Linked DNA regions of Homo sapiens: all the other regions are linked to region 4. Evidence: promoter capture Hi-C in human tissues and cell types (Jung and others, 2019). All regions are on one chromosome and are shown on one strand. The core of a region is centred on a gene start or on the middle of the fragment in contact, and the rest is flanking DNA. Distances in the headings are between cores, read along the strand shown.

The links. The method cuts DNA at HindIII sites, captures the fragments that hold promoters and counts their contacts. A contact is called where the count stands out against the background at its distance.
Region 1: a contact is called between a fragment that was not itself captured here and the fragment with the promoter of TRIP4 in region 4, in 1 of the 25 tissues and cell types used here (H1 embryonic stem cells).
Region 2: the fragment with the promoter of PIF1 here is called in contact with the fragment with the promoter of TRIP4 in region 4 in 1 of the 25 tissues and cell types used here (lymphoblastoid cells).
Region 3: a contact is called between a fragment that was not itself captured here and the fragment with the promoter of TRIP4 in region 4, in 1 of the 25 tissues and cell types used here (mesendoderm cells).

What each region holds. Positions count from the first base shown.
Region 1 is chr15:64,664,398-64,672,124 of GRCh38, forward strand. ZNF609 (zinc finger protein 609) reads left to right here. Exons shown (of 10, transcript NM_015042.2): 4 at 5,949-6,036. It also overlaps the pseudogene RNU6-549P. Among named protein-coding and RNA genes, the nearest start is that of OAZ2, 35 kb to the right of the region's middle. RefSeq lists enhancers at 1,917-2,616, 2,617-3,314. The HindIII fragment of the contact is 4,553 bases long and covers 1-4,409 here.
Region 2 is chr15:64,824,397-64,831,866 of GRCh38, forward strand. It overlaps PIF1 (PIF1 5'-to-3' DNA helicase), which reads right to left and starts at 1,251. Exons shown (of 13, transcript NM_001286496.2): 1 at 1,173-1,251. RefSeq lists enhancers at 1-194, 1,384-1,513. The HindIII fragment of the contact is 20,575 bases long and covers 1-6,896 here.
Region 3 is chr15:64,077,334-64,084,406 of GRCh38, forward strand. CIAO2A (cytosolic iron-sulfur assembly component 2A) reads right to left here. Exons shown (of 5, transcript NM_032231.7): 3 at 3,769-3,818. Among named protein-coding and RNA genes, the nearest start is that of CIAO2A, 13 kb to the right of the region's middle. The HindIII fragment of the contact is 9,527 bases long and covers 1,007-7,073 here.
Region 4 is chr15:64,383,388-64,390,509 of GRCh38, forward strand. It overlaps TRIP4 (thyroid hormone receptor interactor 4), which reads left to right and starts at 4,449. Exons shown (of 13, transcript NM_016213.5): 1 at 4,449-4,577. The coding sequence starts at 4,477. It also overlaps a transcript of PCLAF not described here. RefSeq lists enhancers at 4,164-4,664, 4,246-4,735, 4,665-5,165. The HindIII fragment of the contact is 11,205 bases long and covers 1-7,122 here.

The sequences.
Region 1 (7,727 bases), core at 883-3,382, 280 kb after region 4:
AAGTAAGATTCTAGAGAAACACGGAGCACTATTTATTACTGCTGTTTTTTAGCAGTATTATCCTCAAACATGCTGAGCCTTTCCTTATTTTGTGAACACTTATGAAAAATAGTAAGTTTTCCAAGATGAAGACCAGTTTTTCTTTCTCTTCAGCCTACTTGCTTCTCTAAAGCTAGCCCCTAATAGAGAAACTTGGTCTGTTAAGTGTTATTTGCTGCTTTTCTTTCCTGTCGTCCTATTCTCCAGCTGTCTCAACTCGGAACCTTGCAGGAAGACTATTAAACCTCATCAATGTGTGTTTCCTTTGACATTTAAACAAGCCTCCATTTTGTCTTTCCATATCATAATTTTTTCTCTTCCCTTCTCCCATTTCCAGCACCTTGTTTGACCTGTCTTCTCTTCAGCTCATTCATTATTGCTAAAGTTTGCAGATTATACCAAAGGAAGAAGCCTGATTTATAAACATGTGTTCCCACCCAGCTGTTTCAAGAATAGTAATGAGATTCATCTTCTAGTTGTGTGCCTGCTCTCTGTGTACAGCTGTGCTCATCTGCCCTTATAAATGAGATGCCTATCTCTAAGTCTTACCTTCTCTATAAATGGACTCTGTTCCTATTAAATTGATTATGCAGTAATCAGAGCAGGCCACCTTTTGGGGGAGACATCCATTTGAAATCACTTTGCTAATAGCTAGAGAGAATTTAGCCTAATTACTTCTTTAGGAGAGATGCCATTTCCCTTAAGATGCCAGGGCACTGCAAAGGGATAGGATTCCTATCCTTTTCCCCTCTGGATGACCCCCTGCAATCCTGTATGTGTATGTGTCTTTTATCTAAGGTGAAGGTAACAGGATATTCTAAGAAAATTGTGTGAAAACAATCAGAATCCATTAGAGATAGCTGTGTCAGGCCTTAGAGTCTGAAAGATCTGACCACTAATAGTGAACCCTTGAGTAAATGATTTATCCTTTCTGGTGTATCATTTCCTCCTTTGCAAAGTAGCCTTAACAATCCTTATATGACAGGATTTTTGGCACCCACTTATGGCCTGCCTTCCTCAAAAAGTGATTTAAGACCAGGTGCCGTGGCTCATGCCTGTAATCCCAGCTCTTTAGGAAACCAAGGCAGGAGGATCACTTGAGACCAGGAGTTGAAACCAGCCTGGGTAACATAGTGAGACTCTGTCTCTATTTTTAAACAAACAGAAAAAATTATAAAAAGTAAACAAATGGGCCGGGCCCGGTGGCGCATGCCTGTAATCCCAGCACTTTGGAAGGCCGAGGCAGGCAGATCACCTGAGGTCAGGAGTTTGAGACCAGCCTCAACATGGAGAAACCCCATATCTACTAAAAATATAAAATTAGCTGGGCGTGGTGGTACATGCCTGTAATCCCAGCTACTCGGGAGGCTGAGGCAGGAGAATTGCTTGAACCTGGGAGGCGGAGGTTGCGATGACCCAAGATCACGCCATTGCACTCCAGTCTAGGCAACAAGAGCAAAACTCCATCTCAAAAATAAAAATTAAAATTAAAAATTAAATTAAAAAATAAATAAACAAATGCCAGCTACTCAGGAGGCTGAGGCAGGAGAATCGCTTGAACCCAGGAGGCGGAGGTTGCAGTGAGTAGGGATTGCGCCACTGCACTCCACCCTGGGCAACAGAGCAAGACTTCGTCTCAAAAAAAAAAAAAAACACACACACACAAATAAAAATAAAAGTGATTGGCCTAGTGACTACTGTAATCTCAGCACTTTGGGAGACCAAGTTGGGTGGATCGCTTGGGGCCAGGAGTTCAAAACCAGCCTGGCCAACATGGTATAACCCTGTCTTTACTAAAAACACAAAAATCAGCCATGCATGGTGGCACACGCCTGTAATCCCAGCTACTTGGGAGGCTGAGGCACAAGAATTGCTTGAACCTGGGAGGCGGAGGTTGCAGTGAGCCAAGATTGCACTACTGCACTCTAGCTTGGACAACAGAGCGAGACTCTGTCCAAAATAAAAATAATTAAATAAAAATAAAAGTGATTTAAGGCTGTAAATATTCAATAAGATAATATGAAAACATCTAGCACATAATAGTTTTATTTTTCTTTTTTACTTTATTGTATTTATTTATTTTTTGAGATGAAGCCTTGCTCTGTCGCCGAGGCTGGAGTGCAGTAGCACAATCTCAGCTCACTGCAACACCTCCTTGAACACCTCCTGGGTTCAAGCAGTTCTCTTGCCACAGCCTCCTGAGTAGCTGGGACTACAGGCGCCCACCACCACGCCCAGCTAATTTTTGTATTTTTAGTAGAGATGGGGTTTCACCATCTTGGCCAGGCTGGCTGGTCTTGGACCCCTGACCTCAAGTGATCACTCGCCTTGGCATCCCAAAGTGCTGGGATTACAGGCATGAGCCACCGCACCCGGCTTAATCCTATATTTTTAAAAATCTAAGATTTGGGCCAGGCGCGGTGGCTCATGCCTGTAATCCCAGCACTTTGGGGAGGCCGAGGCGGGCGGATCATGAGATCAGGAGATCAAGACCATCCTGGCTAACATGGTAAACCCTGTCTCTACTAAAAAATACAACAAAAATTAGCCGGGTGTGGTGATGTGCGCCTCTAGTCCCAGCTACTCGGGGGGCTGAGGCAGGAGAATGGCGTGAACCCGGGAGACGGAGCTTATAGTGAGCCGAGATTCGTGCCACTGCACTTCAGCCTGGGCGACAGAGCGAGACTCTGTCTCAAAAAAACAAAACAAACAAAAAAACCCTGAGATTTGTAGAAGCCAAGTGACTTGTTCAAGGTTACACTATAACAAAGCCAGGATTTGCACTGAGGTTTTCTAACTCCATGTCCAGTGATTTTTAGACAACATTGTATGTCGAAGAATAAATGAATATAAGTGAGTTACTAGAGATATGTCCTAGAAGTGCCAAATCAAAAAGTATTTTATTAGTGGGTGGCCGTAGACAAACAAAAGCTAATTCCAGATCCCCCAGATTTATTGTCTTGATATATTCCATAGAAAATATGCCTTGGAGCTGGGTGTGGTGGCTAACACCTGTAATCCCAACACTTTGGGAGTCTGAGGTGGGCAGATCACCTGAGGTCGGGAGTTCGAGACCGGCCTGACCAACATGGTGAAACCCTGTCTCTGCTTAAAAAAAATACAAAATTAGCCCGGGCATGGTGGCACCTGCCGTAATCCCAGCTACTCAGGAGGCTGAGGCAGGAGAATCACTTGAACCCAGGAGGTGGAGGTTGCAATGAGCTGAGATCAGGCCATTGCACTTCAGCCTGGGCAACAAGAGTGAAACTCTGTCTCAAAAAAAAAAGAAAAAGAAAAAGAAACACAGATGCAAGTCACTAAGTGGGGCTGAATCTGTGGACTGGCTGACCTCCAGATCTGGGAACAAAGAGTAGTCGTGAGAGGTGATTTCAGAGGAGTAAATAGATACTAAAAAAGCTCATAGACTAAGAATGTGAGGCCAGGAGAGTGAGATGCTAACCCCCAACCAGCCTTATGAAAGGAGGCTTAAAATAAGTTAATTGTTGAGTGGAGGAGGGAAGCTTTAAGGAGTTGGGAAGGACTGTGTCAAGCTGCCTCCTGATTCATTATTAGAATAGAAGTGTGATATCCTAAATTTCACTGTGGCATAGGCCATTTGAAGACCTGTTGTACTGAGTCCCTAGGGGGCCAGAAGAAAGAAATTGCAAAGTGATGAGACAGAGAAAGGGGAAAAAGTAATAACAAAGACATTCCACTCAATATGAGGCTGCAAACCAAAATGTTAATAATAGAAATCTAATGTTAAGAAAGATAACCAATAAAAACCAGGACTTCCACTTCAGAGAAGATGGAGTAGACAGATTTTTCCCTATTCCTCCCCTAAATACAACTAAAAACTCTGGAAATTATTTATAAAACAAATACAACAAGACTGTGAAACGTGGAAGAAAGAAGGCAGACCAGCCATGGGTCACAAGACCTTAGAAACAACATGGTGATGAGTTCCCTGGGTTTTCTTTTTGTCTCTAATATCCCAGACATGGCGCTAAAACTGAATATTATATTTAATGGTAAAAGACTGAATGGAGCCAAGTGTGGTGGCTCACACCTATAATCCCAGCACTTTGGAAAGCCAAGGCAGATGGATTGCTTGATCTCAGGAGTTCAAGACCAGCCTGGGCAAAATGGTCTTGACAAGAGGATAGCTTGAGCCCGAGTTTGAGCCCAATCTGGGCAACATAACAAGACATTGTCTCTAAAAGAATTAAAATGCCAGCCAGGTGCGGTGGCTCATGCCTGTAATCCCAGCACTTTGGGAGGTTGAGGCAGGCGGATCACATGAGGTCGGGAGATTGAGACCAGCCTGACCAACATGGAGAAACTCTGTCTCTACTAAAAATACAAAATTAGCTGGGGGTGGTGGTGCATGCCTATAATCCTAGCTACTTGGGAGGCTGAGGCGGAGAATTGCTTGAACCCAGGAGGCGGAGGTTGCAGTGAGCGGAGATCACACCATTGCACTCCAGCCTGGGCAACAAGAGCGAAACTCCGTCTCAAAAAAAAAAAAAAAAAAAAAAAAAGGAATTAAAATGCCAAAAAAAAACCCTATATAAAACATAATTTTTCTTTTATCAGATTGGCAAAGAACAAAATGAGAACATCATGTTGCCAAAGGAAAAGGGCAAGAGGTATTCATGGGCTACTATAAATGGGTATATGAATGAGTATGTCCTCTTTGAGGCAATTTGGAGGTGGTTTGGCCGTATTTGTGAGAACTCCAAATACAAGTGCACTGTGATTAACAGTTTTACTTACAGGAATTCATCTTACAGACATATTTGTGTAGGTAAAATGAAGCATTTGTACAAGATTATTCATTGCAGTTTATTTGTAATAGCAGAAGATTGAAACAACCTAAATGTCCGTTCAAATGCTGCCATTGAAAAGAATGAAGTAGTTCTCTGTCTACACATATGGAATGATCCAAAATATTTGGGTACATGAAAAAAGCAGTGTGCAGAACATTGTGTGTATATTGCTATCATTTAAGGAAGAATATATGAACATATTTGCATATATACATATAAAATATCTGTGGAAGACTTTTGGATGTTTCCAAGTAGGGGAACTGGAAGACTGAAGAACAGTTATGGAAGGGACACTTCATTTTATATTAGGGTTTGTTGGAGATTTTTTTTGGTTGAGGTGTGGGGACTACCTTTTGAATTTTGGAGTAAGGCTACATTACCTAGTCAAAAGCTTTATTTTTTTATTTTTTATTTTTTTTTGAGACGGAGTCTCACTCTGTCACCCATGCTGGAGTGCAGTGGCGCAATCTTGGCTCACTGCAAACTCCACCTCCTGGGTTCAAGTGATTCTCCTGCCTCACTCTCCTGAGTAGCTGGGATTACAGGCATGCACCACTATGCCCAGCTAATTTTTGTAATTTTAGTAGAGACAGGTTTTCCCCATGTTGGCCAGGCTGATCTTGAGCTCCTGGCTGCAAGTGATCTGCCTGCCTTAGCCTCCCAAAGTACTGGGATTACAGGCGTGAGCCACCACTCCCGGCCAAAAAAAAATTTTTTTAATTATCCAGGTGTGGTGACATGCTCTTGTGATCCCAGCTACTTGGGAGACTGAGGTGGGACGATCGCTTGAGGCTGTACTCCAGCCTGGGCAACAGAGCAAAACCCCATCTCCAAAAATAAAAATAAAATGTGTCTTGACAAAACCATGAAGTCTTTACAACTGTTACCCATCCTAAGGGACCTCAGTAGCATTGTAGGCAATTCCTATGGAACTATTCTGGCCCAATCCTATTTGTCCCATTGGTACCCAGAGTACCTCCTAAACCCTCTTATAGAAGTCAGAGTGCTGATCAAAAGAATACTATTCTCAGTGGCAAATGGGGTGTGTCTTGTCTATATCTATGTGCTCTTATTTTCCAGGGATGTTGGTGGTAAATGTAACGTGGAGGAACAAGACATATGTAGGTACACTCCTTGACTGCACACGACATGATTGGGCACCCCCAAGGTAAGCACTTACAGCTATTTAGTTTATATTATTCTGAACCACACTAATTGGTGATCCCTTATACTTTTATCCTGCTAGAGTTGTACATCCAGCTTTTAAAGGACATGATGGTATAGATACCAGGGAAAGCACTGTATTTATCTGACATTCAAGAAGACTGAATGGCCAGGCGCGGTGGCTCACGCCTGTAATCCCAGCACTTTGGGAGGCTGAGGCAGGCGGATCACCTGAGGTCAGGAGTTCCAGACTAGCCTGACCAACATGGAGAAACCCCGTCTCTACTAAAAATAAAAAATTAGCCAGGCATGGTGGTGCATGCCTGTAATCCCAGCTGCTTGAGAGGGTGAGGCAGGAGAATCGCTTGAACCCAGGAGGCAGAGGTTGTGGTGAGCCAAGATCACACCATTGCACTCCAGCCTGGGCAACAAAAAGCGAAACTCCATCTCAAAAAAAAAAAAAAAAAGAAGATGAATTGTGTATTAAAGTGTTCGGGGGGCCGGGTACGGTGGCTCACGCCTGTAATCCTAGCACTTTGGGAGGCCAAGGCGGGTGGATCATGAGGTCAGGAGATCGAGACCATCCTGGCTAACACAGTGAAACCCCATCTCTACTAAAAATACAAAAAAATTAGCCGGGCGTGGTGGCGAGCGTTTGTAGTCCCAGCTACTCGGGAGGCTGAGGCAGGAGAATGGCATGAACCCGGGAGGCGGAGCTTGCAGGGAGCCGAGATCGCGCCACTGCACTCCAGCCTGGGGGACAGAGCAAGACTCCGTCTCAAAAAAAAAAAAAAAAAAAAAAATTAATTAAAAAAAAATAAAGTGTTCAGCGGGTGCTCACTTCAGTGGTACATATACTAAAATTGGACCAATACAGAGAAGATTAGCATGGCCCCTGCACAAGGGTGACATGCAGATTCGTTAAGTGTTTTATATTTTTAAAATTAGGAAAAAAAAGTGAAGTGTTGAGGGGATGCACTTTGACTGGAATTATTAAAGTCACCTTGAGACCAAAGCTATAACATCTAACCATGGGTGAGCAAACATTCATTGATGATAGCTATTTCTCAGAAATTTGAACTCAAGAACATTTTTAGTTTTATAAACTCTACTAGAACATACGGGTTTCACAAGGACCTTTTCATGTCGCAATTTGACCTTTAGATGGATATTTCAATCAATGGCCCCTTATAGCTTTTTCCTAATATTAGTACTCAGTTCGTCAGGGTTTGGGAAATCCAGGCGTTGAGGGTAACTTGCAACTAACATACAGGTAACATCCTAGGAGCTTACCAATTAATGCAATTCCCATGCAGTCACAAGTTTCTTTGTTGGATCATATTCATTGAAAATGGTAGTTATTATCTGAACAGTTCTTTTAGGAAAAGTATCTTAAACCTTCATCTGCCCATTGTTCCCATGAAACAAAGATGGGCAGAAATGTCCCAAGGAAAGGTATTTTAAAGTTCTTGATTCCATACCACTTTCTTATTCTCAGATGTGATTATTCTCTACCGAGGGCTATTTATGCCTCTTAATTTTCAGAGATGCTGGGCCAGGTTTCTAGAGGCTTAGACTTTTTTTTTTTTTTTTTTTTTTTTGAGATGGAGTCTCGCTCTGTCGCCCAGGCTGGAGTGCAGTGGCGCAGTCTTGGCTCACTGCAAGCTCCACCTCCCGGGTTCACGCCATTCTCCT
Region 2 (7,470 bases), core at 1-2,500, 440 kb after region 4:
ACGTAATGGGTGCTATAGGGGACGTAATGGGTGCTATAAAGGACGTGACAGGGAGCAGGGTCAAGGCTACACAAGATCACGAGGACTGTCACTGGTAACACAAAGAGGTCACAAAGACGGAGAAAGGGCTTTGGGCTAACCGAAAATCCACCCTTAGAATATGCCCTGGGCCGGGCGCAGTGGCTCGCGCTTTAATCCCAGCACTTTGGGAGGCTAAAGTGGGCGGATCACCTGAAGTTAGGAGTTCTGAGACCAGCCTGGCCAACATGGTGAAACCTCGTCTCTACTAAAAATACAAAAATTAGCCGGGCGTGGTGGCGGGCGCTTGTAATTCCAGCACTTTGGGAGGCTGAAGAAGGAAGATCGCTTGAGCCCAGGAACTCGAGACCATCCTGGGCAACATAGCGACACCCTCTAATTAAAAAAAAAATACATACATATAAATACATACATATGCATACATTATATATATGTGTGTGTGTGTGTGTATATATATGTATATATATATATACACACACGCACCCTGCTACACAATTTCCATTTCTATATATCCAATTTCTATATATATATACACACAATATATATACAATTTCTATATATATACACACACACACACACACACATATACACACACACCGTGCTACACAACAATTTCCAGAGCGGCGGATGGGCACCGAGGATTAGGGAGCCTCAGGTGTCCTGCAAGGACCTCACTAGAACAGGGGTCCCTGCGCAGAAAGAATCCTCCTTCCCCGAGACCCAGGGCGAGCACATGAATCCTCAGAGTACTCTCCCCAGGAAGCAGGAGAATCGCCCGTGGGGAGATGCAAAGAGGGCTGCCGTGTAATAAGCGACTTCTGCCTTGTAGGTACATTCACTGGCTTATATGCAGCGGGCAGGTCTCACTCTTCCCCGTGTACAGACGTGGAAACAGGCTAAGAGAGGGAAACTCACTTGCCCTTCATAAGCCACAGCGGCTAGTAGTCAAAGTCAGTGTGATTCCCATGCCCTCGCGCTTCCCACCACCAAGGTGGGGACGAGGTGGAAAATATTCGGCTAGGGAAATCGCGGGGGACCCTGGGACCCTAGAAGCCGTGCTCCCTCAGGCTGACCCATTTGTTTGCACCCTCCCGCCGGAAACCCCTAGATAAATCAGGCTCTTTGCTCCCCACCTCTGGGTTCGGGCAGACACTCACTTGTGCCGACACTCAGATGAACAAGCAGATCGTAGCCGGCCTGTGGCTAAGCTCCGAAACTAGAAATTTTTCAAATGCTAGAGGCAGAAAATCACCCAATCACCGACTGGATCTTTAAATTCTCCAGCCACTCAGAGGTAGGGGCGTAACAATGGGCGTGTCTTTCTTTGCGTCTCTACTCCAGGAGCTTGGGCTGTACCAATTGCCTGCTAGAGGAAGGAGGTTTATGGTGGTGGCTGAGCATACCAAATCCAGTGGACGGCTGGGCGTGGTGGGAGGAGGCCGCCGCTGCGGCAGCCACCCGGCGGCGCGTGGTGTCGGGTCTGAAAACCCTACGCGACTCCGAAGATTTATTTTCAGAACCATCCTTCCAGCACACTCCCTCTCCCCTCTAGCCCGCACACAGAGGCTGGGCTTAGCCTTGGGGAAGATCTGCCTTTGGACTCTCACACCCCTGTTTACACTCACAGTACCATTGTCCAGTTCTGGGCAGACCACCCCAAGGCCTGCCCAATCCCTCCCCCGCCCCCAACTCTACATCCTTCTCTGCCTTTGTAAGGGACTTTACGCTTTGGCTCTCTCACCCACCTGAGGCCCATGAGTGAGAAACTCTGAGACCTGTGCCACGTGCCAGAGGGTACAGCGGAAGCGAGTAGAGTCTCTGTCTTCAGGGAAATTGTATCCCTCTTCTTGCACAGGATGCTGAAAGAATTTACTTTTAATCATCTTTATTATCTCATTGAAGCTTGGAATTACATAGCTGGAAAGGATCTTACAGGTGAGTCTGGCTACCTCATTTTACAGATAATGATAACTACCATGGATTAAATTGCCCTTTCCTTTCCTTTTTCCTTCTTAGGGCTCACTCTGTCGCCCAGGCTGTAGTGGAGTGCAGTGGCACAATCTCTGCTCACTGCAACCTCTGCCGTGGCGCGATCGTGGCTCACTGCAACCTCCGCCTCCTGGGCTCTGGTGATCCTCCCGCCTCAGCCCCCCAGGTAGCTGGAACTACAGATGCACACCCAGCTAATTTATATATATATATATATATATATATATATATATATATATATACACACACACACACATATATACACACACATATATATACACACACATATATATATACACACACATATATATATATACACACACATATATATATATAATTTTTTTTTCGTATAGACGGGATGTCACCATGTTTCCCAGGCTTGTCTCGAACTCCGGAGGTCAAACGATCCACCCACCGTGGCCTCCCGAAGTCCTAGGATTACAGGCATGAGCCCGGACCTTATTTTTCAAATGAGAAAAAAGCAAGGCTTCCAGAGATTTTACTGAAGGTCACATAGCTGATATGGAGAGCAAAACCAAACATTGAACCCAGATTACCTGCTCGCTTAATCACTCCATGGGGCTTAGCTACTACACCACACTGCTCCCAGTCTGTTAGCGGTAGAGGGTGATGACTGAAAGTTGTCCAGGTTCTTGGCGTTTTGAACAAAGAATTGGACAAAATGCCCATCAAAGCAAAGAAAGAATGAAGCAACAAAAGAACAAAAGCAGGAATTTTTTGAAAACGAAAGTACGGCTAGGCGCGGTGGCTCACGCCTGTAATCCCAGCACTTTGGGAGGCCGAGGTGGGGGGATCACTTGAGGTCAGCAGTTCCAGACCACCCTGACCAACATGGTGAAACCCTGTCTCTACTAAAAATACAAAAATTGCCGGGTGTCGTCGTGGACATCTGTAATCCCAGCTGCTTGGGAGGCTGAGGCATGAGAATCACTTGAATCCAGGAGGCAGAAGATACAGTGAGCCTGGATCGTGCCGCTGCACTCCAGCCTGAGCGACAGAACGAGAACTTGTCTCAAAACAAACAACAACAACAAAAAACAAAAACGAAAGTACACTCCACAGTGTGGGAGGGGACCCGAGATACAGAATTTTCTTGGGTTCAAATACCCCCTAGAAGTTTCCCATTGGGAACTTTACGCTTACTTCATGTAACTGAAGTGGTAGCGATAATCAGTCTGATTGGTTGCAGACAGCAACCATTCAGCCACCATTCAGAGGCTGGAGTGAAGTTACAAAGTTGCAAACGAAGACTGGACCCACACTCCTATGATTTGTTGCAGACAGCCAATCTCCCATCTGCCAATCTCCCATCTGCCATGCGGGAAACGTCAAAGGGAGTAGCCTTTGGTCCTTTTGTTCTTGTCCTTACTTAGGAGTGGAAAGTTAGAGTTTTCCTTTTTTTTTTTTTTTTTTTTTTTTTTTTTTGGGAGACAGCGTCTGGCTCTGTGCTCTGTTGCCCAGGCCGGAGTGCAGTGGCAGGATCTCGGCTCACTGCAACTTCTGCCTCCTGGGTTCAAGCGATTCTTCTGCCTCAGCTTCCCAAGTAGCTGGGACTACAGGTGCGTGCCACCATGCCCATTTAATTTTTGTATATTTGGTAGAGATGGGGTTTCACCATATTGGCCAGGCTGGTCTCGAACTCCTGACTTCGTGATCCGCCTACCTCGGCCTCCCAAAGTGCTGAGATTACAGGCGTGAGCCACCATGCCCGGCCAGGGTTTTCTTTTTTCTTCTTCTTCTTCTTCTTATTTTTTTGAGGTGGAGTCTCTATTTGTTGCCAGGCTGGAGTGCAGAGGCGCTATCTTGGCTCACTGCAACCTCTGCCTCCCCCATTCAAGCGATTCTCCTGCCTTAGCCTCCCAAGTAGCTAGGACTACAGGTGCATGCCACCATGCCCAGCTAATTTTTGTATATTTAGTAGAGACGGGGTTTCACCATGTTGGCCTGGATGGTCTCAATCTCTTGACATTGTGATCTGCCCGCCTCGGCCTCCCAAAGTGATGGGATTACAGGTGTGAGCCACTGTGCCCAGCCGGGTTTTCCTTTTAATTTAATTCTAGGAAGTCGGCGTGAAACAGCCTTAGGTTCCCTGCCTCCAGACCCTGTTCTTCTGCCTCAAGGTGACTGGCCTAGCTTCATGAAAGGTATAACCTGGACTGGAATCTCAGCTAGTAACAGCCACTGCAATGCCTTTCCAGTGGATGCTACCCTAAGCAGGTTTCCATAATGTCTCAAGCCTCTGTTTTCTCAAAATGGGAGAAAGATAAAAATAGTCTAAAATTGATTGGTGATAGTTGCACAACCCCGTGACTATACTGAAAACCATTGAATCGAATGCTTTGAATGCTTAAATTGTATGGTATGTGAATTATATCTCCATAAACCTGTTAGAAATCTTTTTTTTTTTTTTGAGACAGGTTGTCACTCTGCCACCCAGGCTGGAGTACAGTGGCACAATCATAACTCACTGCCGCCTTGACCTTCCTGCTCAAGTGATCCTCCCATCTCAGCCTCCCAAGTAGTTGGAACTACAGATGACTACCACCACGCCTAGCAAATTTTTGTATATTTTATAGAGACTAGGGTCTCGCCATGTTGCCCAGGCTGGTCTCGAACTCCTGGTCTCAAGAGATCTGCCAGCCTCAGCCTGCCAGAGTGCTGGGATTACAGGAGGGTGCCACCATGCCTGGCTGGAAAGAAATCTTGAGAGATATTTTTCTTCTCCAGTGTTGTCTTGACATATATTGAATATCAGTGGCATGCGTCATTGTGTATGAGTAAATGAGTAGGTTAAGAAAAATTTTCAGCTGGGTGTGGTGGCTCACGTCTGTAATCCCACCACTTTGGGAAGCTGAGGCAGGTGGATCATGAGGTCAGGAGTTCAAGACCAGCCTGGCCAAGGTGGTGAAACCCCATCTTTACTAAAAATACAAAAATTAGCTGGGTGTGGTTGCAGGCATCTGTAATCCCAGCTACTCGGGAGGCTGAGGCAGGAGAATCGCTTGAACCCAGGAGACAGAGGTTGCAGTGAGCCAGGATCGCACCACTGCACTCCAGGCTGGGCGACAGAGCGAGACTCTGTCTCAAAAAAAAAAAAAAAAAAAAAAAGAGAAAAGTTTTCAAGGTCATTATGGTAGGCAGAATAATGACCCCCTTCCCCAAAATGTCCATGTTCAAATCCCTAGAATTTGTGAATATTATCTTACATTGGCAAAAGGGACTTTGCAGATATGATTAAGTTTTTTTTGTTGTTTGTTTTTTTTTTTTGAGGCGGAGTTTCACTCTTTTTGCCCAGGCTAGAATGCAATGGCATGATCTCAGCTCACTACAATCTCCACCTCCCGGGTTCAAGCAATTCTCCTGCCTCAGCCTCCCTAGTAGCTGGGATTACAGGCATGCGCCACCACACCTGGCTAATTTTGTATTTTTAGTAGAGACAGGGTTTCTCCATGTTGGTCAGGCTGGTCTTGTACTCCTACCTCAAGTGATCCGCCCACCTCGGCCTCCCAAAGTGCTGGGATTACAGGCGTTAGCCACCACACCCGATCATGGTTAAGTTTTTTGAGATGAAGATGTTATTCTGGATTATATGAGTGGCCCAATGTAATCACAGGGGAAAGAAGGAAACAGGAGTCAGAGAAGATATGACAAAGGAAGTAGAGTTGAGAGAGAGAGAAAGAGAGACGTGAAGATGTTACTGCTGGCTTTGAGGTTGGAGGCAAGGGCCACAGACTAAACCAAGGAAGGCAGGAGCTCTCTAGAAGCTGGAAAGGGCAGGGAAATGGATTATCTCCTGGAGTCTCCAGAAGAAAAACAGCTTTTGATTTTAGTACAGTAGGACACATTTCAGACTCCTGGCTTCCAGAATGACAAGATGATAAATTTTTGTTGTTTTAAGCCACTAAATGTATGATAATTTGTTATAGCAGCCATAGAAATAAGAAACAAATACAGCCACATAGAGAGAAAATGAAAGAGCTGGGATTATGAACCCAGGTCTGTTTCCAAAGCCTGTGTTCTCTCTTTCCACTGCTCTCTGCTTACAATGGGCCTAGCGCACTTACACACAGGGGAAGCCAAATCCCTTACCCTGATTCTGTGTGCAATACCCCAGACTGCTTCAAGGGAAGGCACCAGAATGTCCCAATGGATTTTCTCTTAATATGTTTTTTTTTGTTTTGGCTTTCAAACTTTTTTTTTTTCTTTTTTTGAGACAGTCTCGCTCTGTCGCCCAGGCTGGAGTGCAGTGGCGCAATCACGGCTCACTGCAAGCTCCGCCTCCCGGGTTCACGCCATTCTCCTGCCTCAGCCTCCCGAGTAGCTGGGACTACAGGCGCCCGCCACTACGCCCAGCTAATTTTTTGTATTTTTAGTAGAGACGGGGTTTCACCGTGTTAGCCAGGATGGTCTCGATCTCCTGACCTCGTGATCTGCCCGCCTCTGCCTCCCAAAGTGCTGGGATTACAGGCGTGAGCCATCGCGCCCGGCCTTGGCTTTCAAACTTTTTAAAAACAATTGTGGAAAAATATACACGACATTTATCGTTTTAATTATTTTTAAGTGTATAATTCATGGCATTAAGTACATTCCAAATGTATAACCATCACCACAATTTAATTAATTAATTAATTTATTTATTTATTTTGAGACAAAGTCTCACTCTGCTGCTCAGGCTAGAGTACAATGGCACGATCTCGGCTCACTGCAACCCCTGCCTCCTGGGTTCAAGCGATTCTCCTGCCTCCGATTCCCGAGTAGCTGGGACTACACCTGCCTGCCACCACGCCCGGCTAATTTTTGTATTTTTAGTAGAGACGGGGTTTCACTATGCTGGCCAGGCTGGTCTCGATCTCCCGACCTCAGGCGGTCCACCTGCCTCGGCCTCCCCAAGTGCTGGGATTACAGGCATGAGCCACTGCACCTGGCCACAATTTATTTATTTATTTTTTCACTTTCCCCCACAATTTATTTTTGAATGTTTTCATTATTTCACATAGAAACTTCATCCAGTTCAGGCGTGGTAGCTCACGCCTATAATCCCAGCACTTGGGGAGGCCAAGGCGGGTGGATTACCTGAGGTCAGGAGTTTGAGGCCAGCCTGACCAACAAAGTGAAACCCCATCTCTACTAAAAATACAAAAATTTGCCGGGGGTGGTGGTGGGCACCTGTAGTCCCAACTACTCAGGAGGCTGAGACAGGAGAATGGCGTGAACCCGGGAGGTGGATGTTGTAGTGAGCCGAGATCACGCCACTGCACTCCAGCCTAGGTGATGGAGCGAGACCCCATCTCAAAGAGAAGAAAAAAATGAAACTTCATCCATTAGGCAATAACTCATCATTCCTACTTCCTCTCACACTTTAGTTCTCTCATTTTATTATGAAAATATCCAGGCCAGGCACGGTGGCTCACGCCTGTAATC
Region 3 (7,073 bases), core at 4,520-7,019, 300 kb before region 4:
CCTAGTAGCAAAACACTCTTATTCTAGACCTCAAAGCAACAGGTATAGAATCACTCTATACTGACTTACTTCAGTTTAAAATTACACAGGACTCATTATTCTAAAAGTGATAAAGGGGAAAAGGCAGCATTTATGCAGCTATTCCTATATGAACTATACTTCAGGGTAACCAATTGATGAGGGGAGCTGTTACCAATAATGGGACAAACTGAATTTATAGGCCTCTGATGTGATGCAATGAGAACACATTTATTCAGTATTCTTGCCAAAAATGCACAAACTGAATCTAACCAGGAAACATCAGAAAACTCAATTTGAGGGACAATCTATAAAATATCTGGTTTACATTCTTCAAAAATATCAAGATCATGAAATAAAGGCTAAGGAACTACTCTAAATTAAATGAGACTAAAGAGACATGGCAACTAATGCAATGTATGATGGGGGAGAGGAGCAGAGCCAGGAGGAGGGACCGCCATGAAGGATGTTACCCATTGGAATACGTGCTGTAGATGAGATGACAGTACTGTATCAATGTCCTGGTTTAGAAATTTATACTGTGGTAATGTAAGAGAATGTCCTTGTTTTCAGGAAATACATCCTATAGTATTTAGAGTAAGGGGGCATTACAAATGCACTCAAACATTTCCAGAAAATATGTGTATGTGTGTGTACATATATAGAGAGAAATTAATGATAAACCAAATGTGGCAAAATGTTAACAATTAGTGAATCTGAATCTGGGTGAAGGATATATGGAATTTCTTTGTACTATTCTTCACTATTTTATTTCTTTTCTTTCATTATTTTCATTTCAAATAAAAAGTTAAACATTGTAATTAAAACAGTTAAAAATGAAAAATAAAATTTACAGGGCATCATAAACCACTAGTATAATAATTTATTAATTTACTCAATTTAAGACGTATTTATTGAGCTCCAAATATGTATAAGATCATAGCAGGAACACAGAGATGTATCATATATGAATCTTGACTTCAAGAAGCTGACAGCTAGCTGGTCAGGCATGGTGGCTCATGCCTGTGATCCCAGCACTTTGGGAGGCTAAGGCGGGTGTATCACCTGAAGTCAGGAGTTCAAGACCAAACTGGCCAACATGGCAAAACCCTGTCTCTACTAAAAATACAAAAATTTAGCTGGGTGTGGTGGTATGCGCCTGTAATCCCAGCTATTTGGGAGGCTGAGGCAGGATAATCGCTTGAACCCAGGAGTCAGAGGCTGCACTGGGCCGAGATCGCACCACTGCCCTCCAGCCTGGGCGACAGAGCGAGATTCCATCGCAAACAAAAAAAAAAAAAAAAGAAAAGAGAGAGAAGTTGACAGTCCAGGAGGGAAGATGAAAAACAAACAGAACACAAGTTAGAAAAGGACACTCTCTACATCAGAAGACAAAGAAAGAGCCACGGGGCTGGGTGCAGTGGCTCACGCCTGTAATCCGAAACACTTTGGGAAACCAAGGCGGGAGGACTGCTTGAGCCCAGGAGTTCACGAACAGCTTGGGCAACATAGTGAGACTCTGTCACTACAAAAAATAAAATTAGCTGGGCATGGTGGCATATACCTGTGGTTCCAGCTACTTGGGAGGGTAAGGAGGGAGGCTCACTTGAGCCTGGGAGATCAAAGGTTCAGTGAGCTGTAATCATACCACTATATTCCAGCTTGGGCAACAGGGTGAGACCCTGTCTTTAAAAAAAACAAAAAGAAAGAGCCACGGCAATTCAAAAAAAGAAATAGCTTTAGTTACAGAAATCAGGACTAGTAGTATGGAAAGGTGAATACAAAAAATAAAAAAAAAAATTTAAAAGATAAATAAAAATTCATCTTAAAAAGAAGAAAGAAATCAGGACTGATATCATGGAAAATAAAATAGTATTTCACTGGGCCTTAAAACGTGGGTAGGATTTGGCCAGGCCCAGTGGTTCATGCCTATAATCCCAACACTTTGAGAGGCCAAGGCAAGATGATCACTTGAGCCCAGGAGTTTGAGACTAGCTTGGGCAACAAAGAGAGACCTCATCTCTACCAAAAATTAAGAAAAAATTAGCCAGGCATGGCAGTGCACGCCTGTAGTCCTAGCTACTTGGGAGGCTGAGCCTCGGAGATAGAGGCTGCAGTAAGCAGTGATCACACCACTGCACTCCAGCCTGGGAGACAGAGCAAGACCCTGTCTCAACAGCAAACAAAAAAGATGTGTAGGATTTGAACATATGAGATGGGAGGAAGGGAACTCCAAGTAGACAGGGTACTCTGTGTAAAGGCTAGGTAGCAGCCAGGTAGAGAAGGCATAATTGCCCAGCAATTACAAGAGGCAGTAAGAGACAAGGCCGAATCATTCACGAGCGATAACCAATTACTATGAATTAACTGTGATATCCATATTCTTGCTCAATAGTAGGGTTAAAAACATCTTCCTCAGATTATCACACCAAAAGCACAAGTTAAAAAATTAAAAACAAATTAGACTTTATGAAAATTTAAAACTTTTGTACTGTAAAGGACACCATCAAGAAAGTGAAAAGACAACACACAGAATGGGAGAACATATTTGCCAATCATATCTGACAAGGGACTTGTATTTAGACTATATAAAGAACTCTTATAATTCAATAATAAAAAGACATCCTTATTTTAAAATGGGCAAAGGATCTGAATAGACAGCTCTCCAAAGATACACAAATGGCCAAAAACCACATGAAAAGGTTCTCAACATTATTAGCCATCAGAGAAATAAAAATCACAACCACCATGACAGCAGGGTGCAGTGGCTCATGCCTATAATCCCAGCACTTTGGGAGGCCGAGGCAGTGGATCACTTGAGGCCAAGAGTTCAAGACCAGCCTGGCCAACATGGTGAAACCCTGTCTCTACTAAAAATAAAAAAAAATTAGCCGGGAATGGTGGTACATGCCTATAATCCAAACTGCCTGGGAGGCTGAAGCACGAGAATCGCTTGAACCCTGGAGGCGGAGGTTGCAGTGAGCCGAGATTGCACCACTGCACTCCAGCCTGGCGACAGGGCAAGACTTTGTCTCAAAAACAAAAACAAGGCCAGGCACAGTGGCTCATGCCTGTAATCCCAGCACTTTGAGAGGCCGAGGCGGGTGGATCATGAGGTCAGGAGTTCAAGACCAGCCTGACCAATATGGTGAAACCCCGTCTCTACTAAAAATACAAAAAATTAGCTGGGCGTGGTGGTGGGCACCTGTAGTCCCAGCTACTCGGGAGGCTGAGGCAGGAGAATCGCTTGAACCTGAGAGGCAGAGGTTGCAGTAAGCTGAGATGGCGCCACTGAACTCCAGCCTGGGTGACAGTGAGACTCTGATTCAAAAAACAAAAACAAAAAACCATCACTTCACACCCACTAGAATGCCTGTAATCAAAGATAATAATAAATGTTAGCAAGGATGTGGAGAAGTGGGAACGCAGAATGGTGCAGCCACTGTGGAAAACAAACAATTCCTCAAAATGTTAAACACAGAGTTACCATAGGACCGGGCGATTCCACTCACAGGTGGAAAAGAAATGAAAATATATGCCTACACAAAAACTTATACATGAATGTTCATAGCAGCATTACTCATAATAGACAAAAAGTAGAAACAACCTAAATGTCCATCAACTGAGTAACAGACAAGCAAAAACCACTGAATTGGTACACTTTAAATACGTGAATTGTGTGGTATGTGAATTATATCTCAACAAAGCTGTTTTACAACAACAACAACAACAAAAATACATCTTTCTTACCTTATGTTTAAATGGTAAACATCGCTGAAGTTTTACTCTTAAGCACAGCCCTGTGGAGGGAAAATCACACCTCCAATTATCTCTTTATTGCTTCTTATTGGTTCTTGAAAAAGCATACAACTGCGTTTATGTGCCCCCATACAACACAGTTGCTGAAAACAGCTTTGGCTCAATCCAGAGCAGAGCTCCTTTGAGGCTGGCACCACGCTAGGAAATTTAATATATAATCTTACATATTCCTTAGGATAATCCAATAAGCTATTACTAATCCCCTTCTACAAATTATTAAACCAAAGTCACAACGTAACTTCCTCAAGGTCACTGAGTTACAACAGTGGCAGAATTGGGATTGGAACCTATGACCACTGGAAAGCCCAGGCCATTTTTACTACATCAGTTGGCCTTCCAGCAAAAGTCAATTAACTCATTAAGCCTTTTTTTTTTTTTTTTTTTTGAGACGGAGTCTTGAACTGTCGCCCAGGCTGGAGTGCAGTGGCATGATCTCGGCTCACTGCAACCTCCGCCTCTCGGTTCAAGCAATTCTCCTGCCTCAGCCTCCCAAGTAGCTGGGATTACAGGCGCACACCACCACACCCAGTTAATTTTTATATATTTTTGGTACAGATGGGGTTTCACCATGTTGGCCAGGCTGGTCTCAAACTCTTTACCTCAAGTGATCCGCCTGCCTTAGCCTTCCAAAGTGCTAGGATTACAGGCATGAGCCACCCCACCCGGCCAATTCAATTAACTTTTTAAAATGCCCCACAACAGGCCAGGACACGCAAAAAAATAAAACAAGTCAAAGCCATTTTAAAAGGGCCACATAAAATCTCTCAAATTTGTAATCCTTTATGCCTGCAAGGTACAAATACAGTAACTTCTTTAAAACAAGTTCCACTGAAGTTCAGTTTATCATCCCATGCTAAGACACATCAACAAAACCTCAAACCATACAGCAATACAGCAAGATATAATTGTTAGACTACCTATCTTTTAGGGAGGTAGTAACTTGGTTTTGGTTTTCTAAGTACCATTTGGTTTTCTAAGAGAATTTTTTGAAAAATCCCAAAACAGGGAAAAGGATTAGATGAGATATAATGAGGTGGTGCCTGCCACAGGGTCTTTATTTACTTATTTATTTTTTTGAGACAGAGTCTTGCTCTATTGCCCAGGCTGGAGTACAGTGGCGAGATCTCAGCTCACTGCAACCTCTACCTCCTGGGTTCAAGAGATTCTCCTGTCTCGGCCTCCTGAGTAGCTGGGACTACAGAAGCACGCTACCACACCCACTAATTTTTGTATTTTTAGTAGAGACAAGGTTTCATCATGTTGGCCAGGCTGGTCTTGAACTTCTGACCTCAAGTGATCTGCCCGCCTCGGCCTCCCAAAGTGCTGGTATTATAGGCATGAGCCACCGCGCCCGACCTTATAGAGTCTTGAACACAGTAGTTCTATAATAAATATTAGAGAATTCTAAAGAAAATATATTATTTCCTTAAGAGGGTCTCTCTTCAGAGGATCTGCCTTAAAGCATATCTGGGAGAGTTCCTCTTCCCCTGGCCCCACCATTGTCTCCTTAATTTGTTATCTGTGTACTGTCTGAATATCCTCACGTATTTTAGTCACTATTGGTAGGTGTTTTACAATTCGCAAAGCACTTTTTTGAGCATCATTATCCTCAAGAGAGGTAGTACAGCATAACTGAGATACTTTGGGTTTCAAAAGTAGCTTCACTACATACTCGCTGTGATCCTGCATAAGTTACTTAACCTCTCTGAGCTTCAGTTTCCTTATCTGCAAAACAGGCATTATAGTATCAGCTGGGCAAGGTGGCTCATGCCTGTAATCCCAGCACTTTGGGAAGCCAAGGCGGGAGGACTGCTTGAGCCCAGGAGTTCAAGACCAGCCTGGGCAACGTAGCAAGACCCCATCTCTAAAAGTAATAATAATAATAATAATAATAAAACTTAAAAATATATATAATAATATCACAATATATAGGGTTGCTATGAGGAATAACCTGTTATGCAATGTGTTTAAAACAGTACCTGACACATAAGTGTACAATAATAGTATAAAAATAATTACTATAAATAGTAAAAAATAATAGTATAAAATATTACTATTTTATACTATTTTATAATTTTCATTTTACAGCCAAGAAACCAAGGTAGGTGATTTAACATTACTTAGCTAACAAGTGGCAGAGGTAGAACCCAAACCTACACCTTCTGACCTCCAAACCCTAAGACCGTTCCCATTGGACCACAGCTGCCTTCAGCCATTCTTATCTGGAATAAGTCACCACAAATGATTATCAACTTGTTTCCCTGCCTTACCCTCTTGTTCCCTTGGAGTCTTCCTTGTCAATCACTTACCAAGGTAACATTGAGTAGGTGATACTCTTACTCAGGCACCTTTCCAGGCTAGGACTACCTGCTCTGGAGGAATATCTGTTAACACATCAGACAGACGAAGGCTTCTCTCAAGTTTTCCAGCTGTGTTGACTGAACAAAACTACTATGATACACTATTATACAATTCTCTAAAAAACCAATAGGCCGGGTGTGGCAGCTCACACTTGTAATCCCAGCACTTTGGGAGGCCGAGGTGGGCGGATCACTTGAGGCTAGGAGTTTGAGACTAGCCTGGGTAACATGGAGAAACCCCGTCTCTATTGAAAATACAAAAAATTAGTTGGGCATGGTGGCACGCGCCTATGATCCCAGCTACTTGGAGGCCGAGGCACGAGAATCGCTTGAACCCAGGAGGCAGAGGTTGCAGTAAGCCAAGACAGCACCACTGCTTTCCAACCTGGGCAACAGAGCAAGACTCTGTCTCAAAAAAAAATAAAATAAAATAAAATAAAAATAAAAAATAAAAAGCCAATGGTCTTAGCTGAAATGCATAACGAAAGGGCTAAGACAAAACTTTCTACAGGAAGTGTACAGATCTGAAATATCAACTATAATCTAATGTTAGCACCCTTACAGAACAGTTTTTATTTCATGCACTCTCCTGATATTTGTCCACGTACACATTTTTCTATAACTGCAATCATGATGCAATTTGAACTTATTCAAGCTTTTTCATGTTTTTTTTCTTTTTTAAGAGATTGCTGGTTTCAAACTCCTAGGCTCCAGTGATCCTCTCGCCTCGGCCTCCCAAAGTGTTACAATTACAGGTGTGGGCCACCACGTCTGGCGAATATTTTCTTCTATAAAATTAGTTCCTTAACTCCTGCGTCAAACAGTATAAACTTCCAGATAGGGATTTACCAATATATACCATGAGGCTTCAAAATA
Region 4 (7,122 bases), core at 3,199-5,698:
ATGGAGTCTCACTTCTTCGCCCAGGTTGGAATGCAGTGGCGTGTTCTCGGCTCACTGCAATCTCCGCCTCCCGGGTTCAAGCAATTCTCCTGCCTCAGCCTCCCACGTAGCTGGGATTACAGACACGTGCCAAAACACTCGGCTAATTTTTGTATTTTCAGTAGAGACAGGGTTTCACCATGTTGGCCAGGCTGGTCTCAAACTCCTGACCTCAAGTGATCTGCCTGCCTCAGCCTCCCAAAGTGCTGGGATTACAAGTGTAAGCCACCACACCTGGCCAGCACAGTGGTTCTTAAATGCCATTATTTCCTTTCCAGTTTAAGTGGCTTCTACATAGGTCTGAATTACTTAATTTGAACTTATATTCCAGATTCCTGCAGAAAGAATAAGATAGTCTTTTCTCCTTGCCCACCTGCCAAGCAAGTTGCCAGAAAGAGTATCAAATATATATTTCCACCCGGGGCAGTCTACATATTACTATAGTTGTGTGTTTGTTTTTGTTTGCATGTTTGTCATTTTAACACCAACGATGATAATGAAGAATGCATGCTAGAGAAAAAAAAAAAGTGCTGATGCCTAGTAAAAGTTCTTCATTGAAATGTTTGCTTTGCAGAAGCAATTAAACACAATTTTTATAATGAAATAAAACACAGAGAGTGGTGTGGAGTGAACCTGAAAATTTCAAAGGCCTAGGGCATTAAGAAAAGTTACAGTATGTATCAATACAATTTCTGCCTAAATTTATTTATTTTATTTATTAATTTTGAGACAGAGTCTCACTCTGTCATCCAGGCTGGAATGCAGTGGCACGATCTCAGCTCAATGCAACCTCTGTCTCCCGGTTCAAGCAATTCTCATGCCTCAGCCGCCCATGTAGCTGGGATTACAGGTATGTGCCACCACATCCAGCTAACTTTTGTATTTTCAGTAGAGACAGGGTTTTACCATGCTGGCCAGGCTGGTCTTGAACTCCTGACCTCAGGTGATCTGCCTGCCTCGGCCTCCCAAAGTGCTGGGATTACAGGTGTGAGCCACTGCAACTGGCCTGCCTACATTTATACCAAAGAAAATCTTGGCCGGCGCAGTGGCTCATGCTTATAATCCCAGCAATTTGGGAGGCAGAGGCAGGTAGATCAACTGAGGTCAGGAGTTCGAGACCAGCCTGGCCAAAATGGTGAAACCCCATCTCTACAAAAATACAAAAACTAGCCAGGCATGATGGCTGGTGCCTGTAATCCCAGCTACTTGGGAGGCTGAGGCAGGAGAATCACTGGAACCTGGGAGGTGGAGGTTGCAGTGAGCCCAGATCATGCCATTGCACTCCAGCCTGGGTGATGGAGCAAGAATGTCTAAAAAAAAAAAAAAAAGAAAAGAAAAGAAAAAAGAGATCTTTAAGTCTTGCTAAATGGGTGTGCTTGCATTGCTCAGGCAGAAATGTAATTTAACAAATGACAGTAATAATAAATTGCATTATAATTACATCATAATTAACATATGACTTATGAGAAAAGAATGCCTTTTTCTTTTTTTGAGACAGGGTCTCACTCTGTCACGCAGGCTAGAGTGCAGTGGTGTGATCACAGTTTACTGCAGCCTCGCCTCCTGAGCTCAGGTGATCCTCTTCCAAGTAGCTGGGAACACAGGAGCTTGCCACCACACCTAGCTAATTTTTAGGTTTTTTTTGTAGAGACAGGGTCTCCTGATATTGCCCAGACTGGTCTCGAATTTCCGAGTTCAACCAATCCTCCCACCTCAGCCTCCCAAAATGCTGAGATTACCGGTGTGGGCTACGGTACCCAGCCACCTATGTTATTCTGGAGGACGTACTTATCATAACATGTATGACATACTAAATTATATTATATGAAAAAACTTAAGTCATAGTCTCTGCCTTCAAGCACTTAATGTTTTAGTTATGGAGACTGTTATGGTTAATTTTAGGTGTCAACTTGACCAGATTAAGAAATACCTAGAGGGCTTGTAATCCCAGCACTTTGGGAGGCCGAGGCGGGAGGATCACCTAAAGTCGGGAGTTTGAGACCAGCCTGACCAACATGGAGAAACCCCATCTCTACTACAAATACAAAATTAGCCGCGCATGGTGGCACATGCCTGTAATCCCAGCTACTCGGGAAGCTAAGGCAGGAAAATCGCTTGAACCCGGGAGGCGGAGGTTGTGGTGAGCCAAGATTGCACTATTGCACTCCAGCCTGGGCAACAAGAGGAAACTCCATCTCAAAAAAAGAAAAAGAAAAAAAAAAGAAAAAGAAAAAGAAATACCTAGATAACTTGTAAAGCATTGCTTCTGGGTGCCTTTGAGGGTATTTCCAAAGGAGACTGGCATGTGAGTCAGTGGACTGAGTGGGGCAGATCTGCTCTCAATGTGAGCGGGCACCATCCAATTAACCAAGGACCCAGAACAAAAAAGGTGAGAAAAAATATTTCTTCCTTCTGGAGCTGAGACACTCTTCTCAGACTTCTGCTCCCAGACATCAGAACTCCAGGCCCTCCACCTTGAGACTTGAAGATTTCACAACTTGGACTGAGCCAGCTACCAGCATTCCAGGGTCTCCTGCTTGCAGATGGCCTGTCATGGGTCTTTTCAGTCTCCATAATTTCCTGAGCCAATTCCCTAATAAATCTCCTCATAGATCTGTATCTATATCTATCTGTTATCTATCCTATTGGTTCTGTCTCTGGAGAACCCTAACACAGGGACTGAATAAATAAACAGGTAAATGACTTTGATACCTTACAATTATTATTAAATGTAGTGGAGTTTTACAAAGAAACAAAACTTGTACCCACAATTAATAAACATTCACAGAGTATTTTGACTTTTTCTTAAAAAAAAAAACCCTGGAAAATCATCTGCTTTCCAAATTAATGATATCTACGACAATCTAAATGGAATGTAAATCAATACACTTATGAGGTTTTGTTTTGTTTTTGTAAAAAGGCCTTGCTCTGTCGCCCAGGCTGGAGTGCAGTAGTGCAATCAGGGCTCACTTCAAGCTTGACCTTCCAGGCCCAAGTGATCCTCCCACCTCAGCCTTTCAAGTAGCTGAGACTACAGGCATGTGCCACCATGCCAGGCTAATTTTTTTCATTTTTGTAGAGATGAGGATTCTCCTTATGCTGCCCAGACTGGTCCGGAACTCCTGGGCTCAAGTGATCCTCTTGCCTCTGATTCCCAAAGTGCTGGCATTACAGGCATGAGCCACCACGCCCAGTGTGTGTGTGTGTGTGTGTGTGTGTGTTTGTGTGTGTGTCTCCGTGTGCGCTCGGGTGATCCTCCCGCCTCGGCCTCCCAAAGCGCTGGGATTACAGGCATGAGACACTGCGCCCGGCCAATACACTCATGATTTTAATTATAATATTTATGCCAATGAAAACACTAGCAAAAAGGTAAAACAGCTGCCAATTTAATGTGACCACTTAGTCTAAACAGGCTAGTAGAAATGAAGAACTTTTAACCTGCAAATGCAACAAAAAGCCAGAAATGAATGGGAAGACATTATGATCTCCAGAAAAGTTTGGCTAAATTTTCCCCAGCCCATTGTCTTAGCGGGGTAGGGAATTGCAGACAGCCCTTAAATACTGTCATTTTTGGTTGAGAACTCATGTGGAAAGTCCTCAAAGCCAAATTCCAACTCCTGTTTTACTGTTTTTTACCCTCGAGCTTGCTGAGTTGTCTTGGCTCTCCTGGAAAATACATGGCTCAAAAAATAAAATAGAAGTTTTAGCGGTGTGAATCTAGTAGTCGACTACAGGGGGTATTAAAAATAAACACTCCATCCCGGTTAACACGTGAAACCGCGTCGCTACTAAAAATACAAAAAAAATTAGCCGGGCGTGGTGGCGGGTGCCTGTAGTCCCAGCTACTTGGGAGGCTGAGGCAGGAGAATGGCATGAACCCGGGAGGCGGAGCTTGCAGTGAGCCGAGATCATGCCACTGCACTCAAGCCTGGGCGACAGTGCGAGACTCCGTCTCAAAATAAATAAATAAATTAATTAATTAATTAAAAAATTAAAACCACCACCAGAGCAAAAACTTACAGCGCTTACAATACCTTCCACGTGCTGTTTTATTTTACATAAAACCATGACGATTAAAAAGCTGGCCTCTCAGCTTTCCGGGTATTGGTTTGTTTTCCCCCTAAACTGTCGTTTTTATAGGCACTTGCACTGTCTTCTTAGCAGAATTGCCAATGGCCTTCCTCGAGTCCTACGTTTAGCGATTGGCAAGAATCATGCACTGACAGAGCTCGACTCCGGAGGGCACAAGGAAGTAGACAACAAAGCAGGAAGAAGCAGGAGGCGCACAGATGGGCGGGATCTGCACTGGAGGCGGTGCGACCTTGCGGGGCGGTGCAAGCTGGCGGAACCCGCGTGAGAGAGGTTGGTGTTGCGAAGGGAACTAGTCCGGTGCAGGACGTGGGGCTTTTGCAGCTCAGCTGGTTCCGGCTGGGGAAGATGGCGGTGGCTGGGGCGGTGTCCGGGGAGCCGCTGGTGCACTGGTGCACCCAGCAGTTGCGGAAGACTTTCGGCCTGGATGTCAGCGAGGAGATCATTCAGTGAGAACAGTTCGGGTCCAAGCGGGGAAGGAGCTCTGGGATGTGCACTGCCTGAGCGAACCGGGAAGCGGGGAGGACTGAAAAGTTAAGAGAGAAATGTGATAAAGGGGCTGCAGTCTGTAGTCTGTAGGCGTCGAATTTTGGCCTCCACCTTTGTAGTTTAGTTTCTGGAATAGGGTGTCCGGCTCCACAGTCTGCCGGTCGGGCTTTTTTCCTGGGAAGACGCCCAATCTGTAATAATTAGAAATGCAAGGCTGTCCCAGGAGCCAGTTTCCTTTCTAGAGAGAAGGGGCAGGTCAAACTGTATTTCCTAACTTTGAACCCCTTACTCTTTTATTTATTTATTATTATTGTTGTTATTATTGAGACGGAGTCTCTGTCGCCCAGGCTGGCGTGCGGTGGCGCGATCTTGGCTCACTGCAACCTCCGCCTTCCGGGTTCAGGTGATTCACCTGCCTGAGCCTCCCAAGTAGCTGGGATTACAGGCACGCACCACCACACCCGGCTAATTTTTAAAAATTTTTAGTAGAGTCAGTGTTTCACCATGTTGGCCAGGCTAGTCTCCAGCTCCTGATCTCAAGTGATCCGCCCGCCTCGACCTCCCAAAGTGCTGGGATTACAGGCATGAGCCACCGCACCCAGATATACTCTGAACATTTTAGTCGGCCCAATCTGAGTTGTGTCAGTAGAGCCAACAGGGTCAGCTGTGTCAATAGGACCTAGAATTTAAGTGGAAGCAGCGTGGTAGAGTACAAATAGCTTCTGACTCTGGAGTCTCAGGTTCTATATTCTGTTGTCGTTTACCTGTTTTAGAACCCAGGACAACTTAATTTTTCTCTCTGTACCCTGGTTTCTTCATTTATAAGATTAATCATTAGTAGAGCTTATCATGCTTTATGACTCCTATGAAATGGAGATGGTGTACATGACTTAATATCTACTTTCAACTGATTGAAGAACATTTGTTGCGCTGCTGTTACACGCCAGGTGCTGGGGTAACAAAGACAAGACAGTTGGGTTCCCCTTCGTTGATGAGTGCTGAGGTTGGGGAAATGAAGGGGCTTGTTGGAGCACAAAATAAAGGATTCTCATTAAGATTTGAAAAACTCGGAAGGTTTATTGGAAAGGATAACTTTCACCCGAGAACTAAGGAATAGACAGAGGTGGCGGTCCAAAGTGTTCAGGCAGGGGAGAAAACTACAAAAATGGGACTTGATCGAAGAACTGAAAGTGTTCCTTCATTTGATTCCTTGGTCACTGATGTTGAAACCTAAATTGCTGTTCTAGGGCTTTTGTAGGAAGTAAGATGAGTTTCTGAGTTTCGGAGAAAATAGACTTTTGGCAAGGAGACAGTTCAAGTAGGTTATTTTAATGGATTTTTTTGAGGCCCTAGGAGATGGCTCAAGCCCTTATTCCCAGCACTTTGGGAGGTAGAGGTGGGAGGATTGCTTGAGACTGGGAGTTGGAGACCACCCTGGGCAACATAGTGAGACCCTGTCTCTACAGAAATAAAAAAAGTAAACAACAAGATAAAGGATTTTTTTTAACACTAGAATAGACAACAAAACAAAACAGCGAAATCTTATGGTTTGGCTTTACCCTTGCTTGAACGCAGTCAGATTAAGTATTTAGTAGTTTTCAAACATTTTTTAAAGCAGTGGAATGCTATCAAATGAAATAATGAAACTTTGCAATATATAAAACAGAAAAGTGTTTTTTACGAATATAAGTTCAAAATTTTCACTTTTTTTTTTTTTTTTTTTTGAGACAGATTCTGTTGCCCAGGCTGGAGTGCAGTGGTGCGATCTCAGCTCGCTGCAACCTCCGCCTCCCACGTTCAAGCGATTCTCTTTCCTCAGCCCGAGCAGCTGGGATTACAGGCGCGCACCACCATGCCTGGCTAATTTTTGTATTCTTACTAGAGATGGGGTTTCACCATGTTGACCAGGGTGGTCTCGAACTCCTGACCTCAGATGATCCAACCGCCTCAGCCTCCCAAAGTGCTGGGATTACAGGCATGAGCCACCACGCCTGGCCCAATTTTCACATATTTATTGTAAATATGTGTAATATATTAAATATCAAATATATTAAATATTAAATATATCAAATATTATATTAAATATATTAAATATTAAATATATCAAATATTATATTAAATATATTAAATATGTGTATTATATTAAATACAGTATTAAAAAAAAAAGATTGAGGTGGCCAGGCGCAGTGGTTCATGTGTGTAATCTAAGCACTTTGGGAGGCCGAGGCAGATGGATCATTTGAGGTCAGGAATTTCAGACCAGCCTGGCCAACATGGCGAAACCCCCACTCTACTAAAAATACAAAACTTAGTCGGGTGTGGTGGAGCGTGCAGGTCATCTCAGTTACTCGGAAGGCTGAGGCAGGAGAATCCCTTGAACCGCGGGGCAGAGGTTGCAGTGAGCTGATACCGCACCACTGCACTCCATCCTGGGTGACAGAGTGAGACCTCGTCTCAAAAAAAAAAAGGAAAAAAGAAAGATTGAGGCTATTTTTGATAAATTAA